Regions from separate parts of the Homo sapiens genome. Here all the other regions are linked to region 1. Evidence: promoter capture Hi-C in 16 types of primary human blood cells and fetal thymus (Javierre and others, 2016). All regions are on one chromosome and are shown on one strand. The core of a region is centred on a gene start or on the middle of the fragment in contact, and the rest is flanking DNA. Distances in the headings are between cores, read along the strand shown.

Region 1 (3,476 bases), core at 609-3,108:
ACTTTGGGAAGCCGAGGTGGGCAGATCACTTGAATTCAGGAGTTGGAGACCAACCTGGCCAACATGGTGAAACCACGTCTCTACTAAAAATACAAAAATTAGCCGGGCATAGTGGTGTGTGCCTGTAGTCCCAGCTACTTGGGAGGCTGAGGCAGGAGAATCGCTTGAACCCCGGAGGTGGAGGTTGCAGTGAGCCAAGATTGTGCCACTGCACTCCAGCCTGGGTGACAGACTGAGAGTCAGTCTCCAAATAAATAAATAAATAAATAAATAAAAATAAAAAGCCAAGCAACCCAATTAAAATATGGGTAAAAGATATGAACATTTTCTCCAAAGAAAATATATGAATGGCCAATAAGCACATGAAAAGATGCTCAGCATCCCCAATCATTAGAGAAATGCAAATCAAAACCACAAAGAGATACCATTCCACACTCACTACGATGGCTATCATAAAAAATAACCAGTAAAAAAGTAACAAGCCTTGGGGAAGATGTGAAGAAATCGGAACCCTCATACACTGCTTAGTGGGAAAGTAAAATGGTACAGCTGCTTTGCTTGGCAGTTCCTCAAAAAGTGAAACACGGAGCAATTGCCCTCCTAGGTATATACCCAAGAGCACTGAAAACACATGTCCACAAAAACGTGTAAACAAATGTGCATAGCAGCATTACACACAATGGCCAAAAACTGGAAACAACCCAAATGTACATCAACTGATGAATAAACAAATGTGGTACACTGATACAACAATATTAATATGCTATAAAAAGTAAAGTACTGATACATACTACATGAGTGAAACTTGAAAACATTACAGTATGTCTTTCGACGCCAGACACAAAAAGCCACATATTGTACGCTTCCATTTATATGAGATTTCCACAACAGGCAAACCCATATAAACAGAAAGTAGATTAGTGGTGGCTAGTGGGGTGGGGTCAAGGGGAAATGAGGAGTGATTACTAAGAGAGACAGGGTTTCTTTTGGGGATGATGATCTGGATAGTGGTCATATTTGGAAAACTCTGTGAATATATTAAAAGCCACACTTTAGAAGAATGAGTTTTATGGCATGTGATGTATATCTCAATTTAAAAATTGTCACTACAAAAAAAAGATGACATATATACGTAATATACACATCAATGTATATCGGTAACACATAGATATGTGTCATCTCTCTCTGTAAATGAGCATTTGGGCTTTTAAATTTGAGATATGCTCCGTGTATATAAAGAGAAGAATGAAAGAAAAGGGTGACGGGGCACTCGCGGAGCCCTGAACAGGCATCTGGGGTGTGCCCGAGCCAGCCTCGCAGCATCTCCATCCCAGCTCACCTTCAGCCATCACTCATACACCACCCGCCGCCTGTCCCTGCCTTGGGCGCCCGGGACCGCTTGTCCGCGGTGGCCGCGGAACAGCTTCCCTCAGCCCGAGGTGGGGCAGGCGCGGGGGCCTGGGCTCGGGCGCTGCCCGGCGGCCCGGAGAGGCGTCCGCAGGGGGCACGGCTGCTCGGGCGGGGCCGCTCCCTCTGCTCCCCGCGCCCCCGCCGCCGGGTCCCGAGCCCAGGCCTCTCGGCCCCACCTCCCTCCCGCACCTGATGCGCCCGAACGCGGCGCCGCGGCCGAAGCCGAGACTTCCCCTCCATGGTCACCTGTTCCGGAGCGCGGCGGCGGCAGCGGCCGGTGTGAGAAGGGTCCCCGTCTCCTCAGACCAGACCGAGACACCAGGGGCGGGGGATGGAAGGGGCATTCACCTGGTGCCCGGCACCGGTGGTGGCGGGGAGGACAGCGGCTCCCAGCCCACAGCTCCTTCCTGCTCCCGCGCCTCCTCGCGCGGCTGCGGCCCCAAGCTGACAGCCCGGCCGTCGGCGCCCGCGGCCCCCTGACTCCCCGCCGCCCCGCCCCCGCGCGGCAGCCCCGCGCAAGCGCAGCCGCGCCGCCGCCGGGGAAGCCCGGGCCTTGGTGATGTGGCCCGCGGGGCGGCGACCCGGAGCGACAGCACCGCCCCGCCCGGACCCCGGCCGCGCCCTGGCAGACAGCTGTCGGGAACGGGGGCGCTGGATGACGGCAAGGGGGCAGTTTTCTGGGGAGCCTGCCCAGGAGAGAAGGGCTGTGGCCTCCTTCGGCATCCCTCTTCCCCACCAGCCCACGCACGCCCACTTCACCGCCTGCTCCAAGGTCCGAACCCCCGAATCCATGACTCATGATTTCTCTTCTCAGACCAGCGGCCTCTTTTTGGCTGAGGTCATGTTTCTTGCAGACTGGAGTTAAAACCGAACCACGTGTCTTTCGGCCCAGCAGCGCATAGTGTGGGCGGTGCAGGAGCCGAGACGGGCAGGAACCACCGCAGGAGGGGGTGAGGTTTAGGGCAGCCCCATAGCACCCTCCCCGTGCCAGGCAGGTGTAGGCGCCAAGCGCATGGGGCGCTGAAGAGTTGGCTGGGGTGCCAGGCTTTTCAAGTTTCCCCACACTTGCTTTTAAACCTAGATCAAACTGATCCAAAGTCTGCATGTAAATCCGAGAGCTCATTTATTTTATTTACAAAACTATTGAGCATCTACTGTGTATGATTCAGGGAATGAGACACACCCCAGGGATACTCCAGTGAACAAAAGAAAGGTGTTGGTCCGAAGACAGTTATTTTAAAAATTACACAGCTAATGCCATAATGCCAGGATTGGTGGCTCATGCGTGTAACCTCAACACTTCGGGAGGACCAGGCGAGAGGATCGCTTGAGGCCAGGAATTTGAGACCAGCCTGGGCAAACACAGCGAGACCTGGAGTGGCTAGGAGACTGAGGTGGGAGGATCGCCTGAGCCCAGGAGTTCAAGGCTGCAGCGGGCTATGATCGCATCACTGCACTCCAGTCTGGGCCACAAAATGAGACCTTGTCTCTAAAACAACAACTCAAAATTACACAGCTAATGATACTCTTTTCCTCAAATCAAAGCTTCTACCAATTCCAAGCCACACCAGTGATTTAGTAGCAGCTTTTCTGGTGCTGAAGGACACCAGCATACATTTATCCATGTTCTTTTTTTTTTTCCTTATGCTTTGCGATCAGACTTTGAGCTTTAACCTTAACCTTCAGGGTGAAGGGTGCTTCGGTATCACTCTTGGCCATCTGCAGTCATGCTTTTTATAATGACTCATCCTGGTGTTCCTCACCACCTAAAAATGAAAGTATAATTGCAAGGAATATGGAAAAGCAGTGTTTTGACTGCATTTCCAGCTGGTTTTTGTTCTGGTTGTTTTTTGAATTACAGATCATTAGAAAGTAGCTGCTCTTGAAAGTTTGGCAGAAGTTCCACCCAATATGTGTTCCTCCCCTGAGTGTGTAGTCTTTCAAGATTTCTACACAAAGCATATACAGAAGCCAGCCTGTCTTGGTTTTGAAAATTCTTCCACCATTTTTTTCTGAGAGAGCTGGTGGTTTCTACCGTCCTTCAGAGCATTACATGGCATGTGGCA
Region 2 (3,476 bases), core at 282-2,781, 290 kb before region 1:
ACATGCCTGAAATACAGATTTACTCTGAAATACAGTGGATGGCCAACAAATGTTTCCTGATTGAAAAAAGATGGAAGGAAAGGGAAGGGAGAGAAGGAGAAGCTAGGGAAGTCCTGTGTGGAACAGTAGAGCTGGGATCAGGTACCTCATCAGAGAGGCGGGGCAAGGTCTGATAACCCCTTTTTTCACCGTTCTACAGTACCGTGTGCGGTGGGGTCTGGAGTGAGCCAGAACAGATAAGTCGTTGCCCCTTGCCATCCCCCAAAACTATGCCCAGGGTAGCTGGCCAGGACTCTGTCTGCATCACACTCCTGCCAGTGTATGGCATGGGGCCTGGCAAATAGGAGGTACCTTTAAAACGCTTGTTGAGCAGAACATTCCAGTTGACCTGATAGTTCTTCATGAACATAGTCATTCATTTTCATTGACAGAACTTATGTTAAATGATACGAAGTTATTTTGAGAGGTAAGTGACCCTGACCCTGTCCACAAGAATTATTCAGTTCCGTGAATTTGGTCCAGCAGAGTCTGGTTTTTAACAGTCATTTGGCCTGAGCTATTGACTGCAAACTTTTAAGATTCTTCCAGGCCGTCTCATTAGAAGTTGACAGCACTTTGGCACCACGGAGACCTACAGGTGTCCTTATTCCCCCACCACGCTTCTGGTAATGAGAAATGAAAGTCGTCCAGCCTCACTCAGCTCACTGTGTGTTCCAGATTACACACCAAGGTTGTGCAATCTAGCCTTGGTTTTGCTAGATACTGATCCGGCTCCAGATAAATGTCATTGGATGACAACATATATGTTCCTTAAAACTCCAGCTTTTGGAGTTTCATCCCAGTCCTTACCTTGCATCTCAATCAGGGACAGAATTTTGGCCGTCATTTGGGAAGGAGCCAAGTGGACACAGGATGGTTTTAGACGAGTGGTCCTAACTTTTTCATCTGCATTTCCATCCAGTGTTGGAGCTAGGACTTCCGCATGCATCCAGACTCTGCTTTCTGCTCATTTCATGACCTTAGGGGAGCTATGAATTCCTCTGGGCCTCAGTTTCCTCATCGGTAAAGCAAGCAAGTCATGGACCTACCTCAGGCTGGTTGTGAGGATGGAATGAGATGCTGCCTGTCAGCTTCTTAGCACCACCTAAGGTCTCTGGTGATGCTGGTTATTGCAGCTGCACATCCAAAGCACCTGGCGAGCTTTCAAACACCTTAGACACCCAGACCCACGGAATCAGAATCTCTAGGGGTATGCACCCATGAGTTCATGGTTTTTAAAATCCTCAGAGATGATTTGTGTGCCTAGTCAGGATTGAAACCACTAATTCTAAAGGAACTGGATTCATGGGGTTTTGTCTTTAGGAGGGAGTCTAGCCAGTAGAGCCAACCCACAGAAGCTGGAGTAAGAATACTTGGGTTCCAATCCCGGTACCACCCCTGGCTTACCCCCACACCATATACCCTGGCTGTGTGACCTTGAGCTAACGACTTAACTTCCCTGGAAGTCAGTTTACACAATAAGAAAGTGAGGACAGTATTTATGAGCACCCCTCATAGGGTCATATAGGGACTAAATGAGATTATCCATGCCAAGTCTTATATTAAAAAGTGCCTGCCACAAAGGAAGCCCCCAGGAAGCGGTGAGCACATGATACATGTTAACTCACTCTCCAGAACAACCCTGGGTAGTAGATTATGTCATTATCCAGTTTCCGTATGTGGAGCATCTCTGTAACTCCTCTAAGGTCACGGGTGTTAAACCCACTCCCGAGACACCATGACAACACAGAACACACTGCGTTGGGACGTCAGCTGGGTCAGCTGAAGGACTTGTGAGTGCAGCTCCCTGAGCTGCAGCTGACCACACAAGTGGGCAACTGAATACAGTCCCCATAAAGCATGTTTATCTTATCTGGGGCTGGAGATTAGCTGTGTTGTGCAGAAGGGAAGAGGCATTCCAGGTCTTTCCAGCTGTCTTGCCTGTGAACATTTATCGTCCCCTAGTTCCGACGTTTATTATCCCCCCGGGTGGATAGCACTAATTCATACCAGTCTGTCCGATGGCAGCAACCCCCATAGATGTATGGGTCATGGCGGAAGAGGGAGAAACCCCAGACTCTTGCTATTTGGAGGGAATGAGATTCTGATAGTCACAGCCCTCAGCAAACTGTTCTCTTTGGAACCAATACAGTTGTTTTCCTGTAAGAACACAGAGAAGACCCAGGCAACTCTGGGTTCCAGAAATGAAGGCCTCCTTGAGAAGCCACATTAACCCTGACATTTCTTTCTCCCCATTTCTGTGGGCAAGGAACACGGCCCCCAGGCAACTCTGGGTTCCAGAAATGAAGGCCTCCTTGAGAAGCCACATTAGCCCTGACATTTCTTTCTCCCCATTTCTGTGGGCAAGGAACACGGCCCCCAGGCACTGAGGAAGTCCCCACTGCAGCGTGCGTTAGACGTACGCACCCCTCTGCAAGCACAGGCTCGCACAATCGCCCGCTGTGTCTCCTGCCAGCCAGCTGGGTGAATGTTCCCGGGCAGCCAGAGCGTTTTTCCTCCCCTCCTCACACTCCCCTCCCCTTCTCCTGCCCCGCCAGCTCCACGCCCTCCTGAATGTTCCATTCTAAACAGCCACAATCAGGAGCCTGTTCTGCACTGGGAAAAAGAGCAGCATGAAGGCTTTTAAACTTGCTGGGTAATTTAAGGTATTTATCGCTATTTGGAGAGCTTTGCTTGTTTTGAATCCATTCCCCCTGCAGCTCTCAGAAATGGTGCAAATGATTTTTTTTCCCCCTTGAAAAGGGATGCTTCTAGGTCTTTCCACTGTCCCCGAGGCCGGATTCTGAATGCAGGCCTCCAGACCTGGGTGCATTCGCTGAGGTTTTGTTCATTCATAAACGTTAATTGGGCATCTCCCTGCTCCAGGCCTACATTGTGTTTGTAGAGTGCTCCCCCTTTCTGCAGTGGACTGTGTTTCTAACTCATGCGCAGTAAACGAGGTCAGAGAGCCTGGCTTTGGGATCCAGGCTGACCCAAGGTCAAGCTGCGCCCTGCAAATTAGCTGTGTGACCCTGGACACCGTTCTCAGCTTCTCCAGAACACAGTTTTTCATCTGTTAAATGGGTATGATGACAGCTCGTAGCTTACTTGCTTTGGAGGCCAGCCTGCCCGTGTCCAGATCCCAGCTCTGCCACTTCCTCCTCCTGTGAGCCTGGCTTTTCCGTTTTGTCAGTTGATTCACCTTCAGTCAGGAATAATAGCCAATCCCTCAAAAGGTGGCAAGAGAACTGAGTTGATGCATATCAAATACTTGTGCTTAGCACATAGAAATTGCTCAACTCAACAAATGTTAGTTTAGAGGAGGCCCTTAATAAATCTAAGTTCCCTTTTCCCCTCTCGCTTTCCTAAAGCTTCACCTAAGCCAACAGCTGGACAGAGGCGGAAGCTTGCCAAGAGAGTCAGAAGAATCTGGACTC
Region 3 (3,476 bases), core at 518-3,017, 270 kb before region 1:
ATCCCCAAGATGGTGGCATTATTTATGAGAAAGGACTCCTCTTGCAAAACTGTGCGTAGACGCATGGGTGTGGCTCTTCCCCCAAAGGACTGGCTTTCCTTTCCTTCCTTCTTGAAGGATTACAGAATAAATAGGAATTGGTACAAAATGTGGATGGATGGATGGATGGATGGATGGATGGATGGATGGATGGATGGATAGATGGGTGAGTGAGTGGATGGATAGATGGACAGATAGGTGGATGGATGAGAGGACATCTACACAGGGTGGTGAAAAGAGCATTGGCCTTGAATGGCAGAGCTACTCAGCTTCTTTGAGCCCAACTCTATCATCTGTAAAAAGGGGATGGTACACCCTGCCCCTCCATGGCTCCAAAGGCTATTAGAAAGCTCAAACTGAAAGCCAAGACACCTTTGTTTTGTTTGATATGGTTTGGTTTGGTTTGGTTTGGTTTTGTTAGAGACGGAGTCTCACTCTGTTACCCAGGCTGGAGTGCAGTAGCGCGATCTCAGCTGACTGCAACCTCTGCCTCCCAGGTTCAAGTGATTCTCCTGCCTCAGCTTCACAAGTAGCTGGGATTACAGGCATGCACTACCATGCCTGGCTAATTTTTTGTATTTTTAGTAGAGACAGGGTTTCACCATGTTGACCAGTCTAGTCTCGAACTCCTGACCTCAAGTGGTCTGCCCGCCTCGGCCTCCCAAAGTGCTGGGATTACAGGCATGAGCCACCACCACACCCAGCCCCAAAACACCTTTGTTCAGTCAAGGTGCTCTGCAGCTATAAGGAATTATTTTCTATGCAACCTCTTCCCTCCAAAGACTGCCTCTAATCCCCCATGCTGCAAATATATTATGATTAAAGTGCAAGAGTAAGTCAAAATCTTAGTAAACTCTATGATCACTTTGGCATTCCTCCAACAAACTCTGCATGGATTTTGTTCCTCCTCTCAGCTCCCAAGCAATTTTTCTTACATTGGAGGTTGCCAAGATTTTATGGCTATTTGGTTATCTTATCCATCCAGATGGTTAGCATTAATTTATGCTGAAGTAAATCTGCAAAACCTCATCTGTCTCATTGCTCCAGAAGCATTAGGTGTAAGGCCTAAAAAAATCTTAATATATAGCCTCCTGAGAGGGCTGAGGTGCGATGTTACTGCATGCTTTTTATTCAATTTGGCTTGAAATTCTGCTCTTCTATCCCTTGATATTTATATATAAGCAAATTAGGTTGTTTGGTATAAGAAACCTAAACTTATTTTATGACTTTTAATGCAGATGCTCATCTCAAGTTACACAGGTGCTTTTTATTGAGAAAAGTTATACCATGATTTATACCAATGATAAATTTTGAACACCTTTTCTCCATTTTTGAATATTCATCATTAAGACATAATGTATGGGTTGGCGACCAGGGATTCAAATACTCATTAAATGTGTGACCTCAGGCAAGTCTCTCAGCCTAGTTGAGCTCCATTTCCATCACCTAGATGAACACTTGCCTGTAGGACTACTGTGAGGATTATATGTTTAATGTATGTGGGGTGCTTGGCACATAATAGCACTTAATAAATGCTATTAGGGACTATTCTTGTTATGGTTGAGCCGGTGAAGAATTTTGTGTGAGAGATTGTGTCTGGACTTTCATTTGGAGCAAGTTAGGTCAAAATAACAGCTCCTGGCACTGCTGGTGCTGAACATGTGTTCTCTGCCTATTCCCTTGCTGAGACATGAATTATTAATATTTTATGCCATTTATTCCTGTGCTATTTGGGGACTTCTCTGGCAGACTCTGGTGTTTTCTGATGGTTCCAGAAATTCGTGCAAAACATTTCTATAGGCTGGGCACAGTGGCTTACACCAATAATCACAACACTTTAGGAGTTCAAAGTGGGAGGACCACTTGAGGCCAGGAGTTTGAGACCAGCCTAGGCAGCCTTAGTGAGACCCTCATCTCTACGAAAACATTTTTAAAAAATTAGCTGGGCATGGTGGTGCATACCCGTAGTCCTAGCTACTCAGAAGCCTGAGGCAGGAGAATCGCTGGAGCCCGAGTTTGGAGGCTATAGTGAACTATGGTCCCACCACTGCACTTCAACGTGATCACAAAGGGAGAACTCACCTCTTAAAAAAAAAAAAAAAAAGACAACATAGTGATTCATAGGGTTGACCTGACTTTTCCTAGGAGTCTAATGGACAGCTGCTTAGCCGCTGATCCAGCGCTTGGCTGACTGATTCCAGGTGCCAGAATGTGGGACAGCTGTGCTCTGAGAGAGAGTCCTCTGCTCACTCAGGTGCAGAAGACAGTAAAGACTAGAAAGTTGGTTGATGATTGCTGGAATAAAGGATGAGAAACTTGAATCTGGTACTAGGCCCACACAAATTCAGTTACTATGTGTCACTTCCTGTTGGCTATTTATTTAAAATTGTAGGACTTCTGGACAAGATTTGCAACTGTGGCTGCTACTGTATCAAAAGTTACAAAGTAACTGCTAAGTAGAGCCTTTAGTTTGTTGTTGTTCTGGTTTATTTTATTTATTTGTTTTGTTTGTTTGGTTGGAGACGGAGTTTCATTCTTGTTGCCCAGGCTGGAGTGCAGTGGCGCGATCTCAGCTCACCGTAACCTCCGCCTCCCAGGCTCAAGCAATTCTCCTGCCTCAGCCTCCCAAGTAGCTGGGACTACAGGCACCCGCCACCACGCCTGGCTAATTTTTTTGTATTTAGCAGAAGCAGGGTTTCACCACGTTGGTCAGGCTGGTCTCAAACTCCTGACCTCAGGTGATCCACCCACCTCAGCCTCCCAAAGTGCTGGGATTACAGGTGTGAGCCACCACACCTGGCCATTCTTGTTTCTTTTTGTTTTGTTTTAAAATTGTATATTTTGGATCAGTTTGCATCTCTCTCTCTCTACAGGGATTGGTTTGAGCATTGTGCAGGTCCCAACTGCCAAGGCTCATGGTCCTTCTGTATAGATGCCACAAACCTACAGTTAACACAGCAACCTTTCTGGCCTTGCCAAGTGCTAAGAGTGGTTGCAATAGGGCCTAGGATTCAGAAGTTGCACTGGGCAGTCAGCAGGGCCCATGCCCCTCACCAGCTCTTCTGGAACTATTTTGTTTTTTTAGCATCCAAGTGCTTTACACCTTGTTCTCATTTGGGTGGTCAAGCCAAGGGTTGTTGACTGAATTCGTAAAAGCACCTTACACATCAGAGGCACTAAGTAAATGTGTATAAATCCTGGACAATACAGCAATAGTGATGGTTAATAACAATGGTTCTCATTTATTGAGCACTTACTATGTACCACACACCATGTGAAGCGCTTTACCTGAGTTATCTCATCTCACCGTCCAACCACTGCATTAAGTAGATGCTGCAGTAGCCCTTATTTTACAGATGAAGAAAGAGGCCAAAGAGCTTAAGAATTTGCCCATAGTCATAGCTGGGAAGCCAGAGGCAAGGATTTGATTCCAGGGT

What was found. The method cuts DNA at HindIII sites, captures the fragments that hold promoters and counts their contacts. A CHiCAGO score of 5 or more calls a contact.
Region 2: a fragment that was not itself captured here is called in contact with the fragment with the promoter of SLC41A2 in region 1 in 2 of 17 cell types (naive B cells and total B cells); the score reaches 5.7 in naive B cells.
Region 3: a fragment that was not itself captured here is called in contact with the fragment with the promoter of SLC41A2 in region 1 in 4 of 17 cell types (naive CD8 T cells, naive B cells, total B cells and 1 more); the score reaches 6.9 in naive CD8 T cells.

The regions. Positions count from the first base shown.
Region 1 is chr12:104,956,432-104,959,907 of GRCh38, forward strand. It overlaps SLC41A2 (solute carrier family 41 member 2), which reads right to left and starts at 1,859. Exons shown (of 11, transcript NM_001352171.3): 1 at 1,657-1,859. RefSeq lists silencers at 1,248-1,577, 1,768-2,037. The HindIII fragment of the contact is 5,296 bases long and covers 1-2,953 here.
Region 2 is chr12:104,666,640-104,670,115 of GRCh38, forward strand. The region is part of intron 2 of CHST11 (carbohydrate sulfotransferase 11); the gene reads left to right. Among named protein-coding and RNA genes, the nearest start is that of MIR3922, 77 kb to the left of the region's middle. The HindIII fragment of the contact is 3,754 bases long and covers 1-3,408 here.
Region 3 is chr12:104,684,107-104,687,582 of GRCh38, forward strand. The region is part of intron 2 of CHST11 (carbohydrate sulfotransferase 11); the gene reads left to right. Among named protein-coding and RNA genes, the nearest start is that of MIR3922, 94 kb to the left of the region's middle. The HindIII fragment of the contact is 6,908 bases long and covers 1-3,476 here.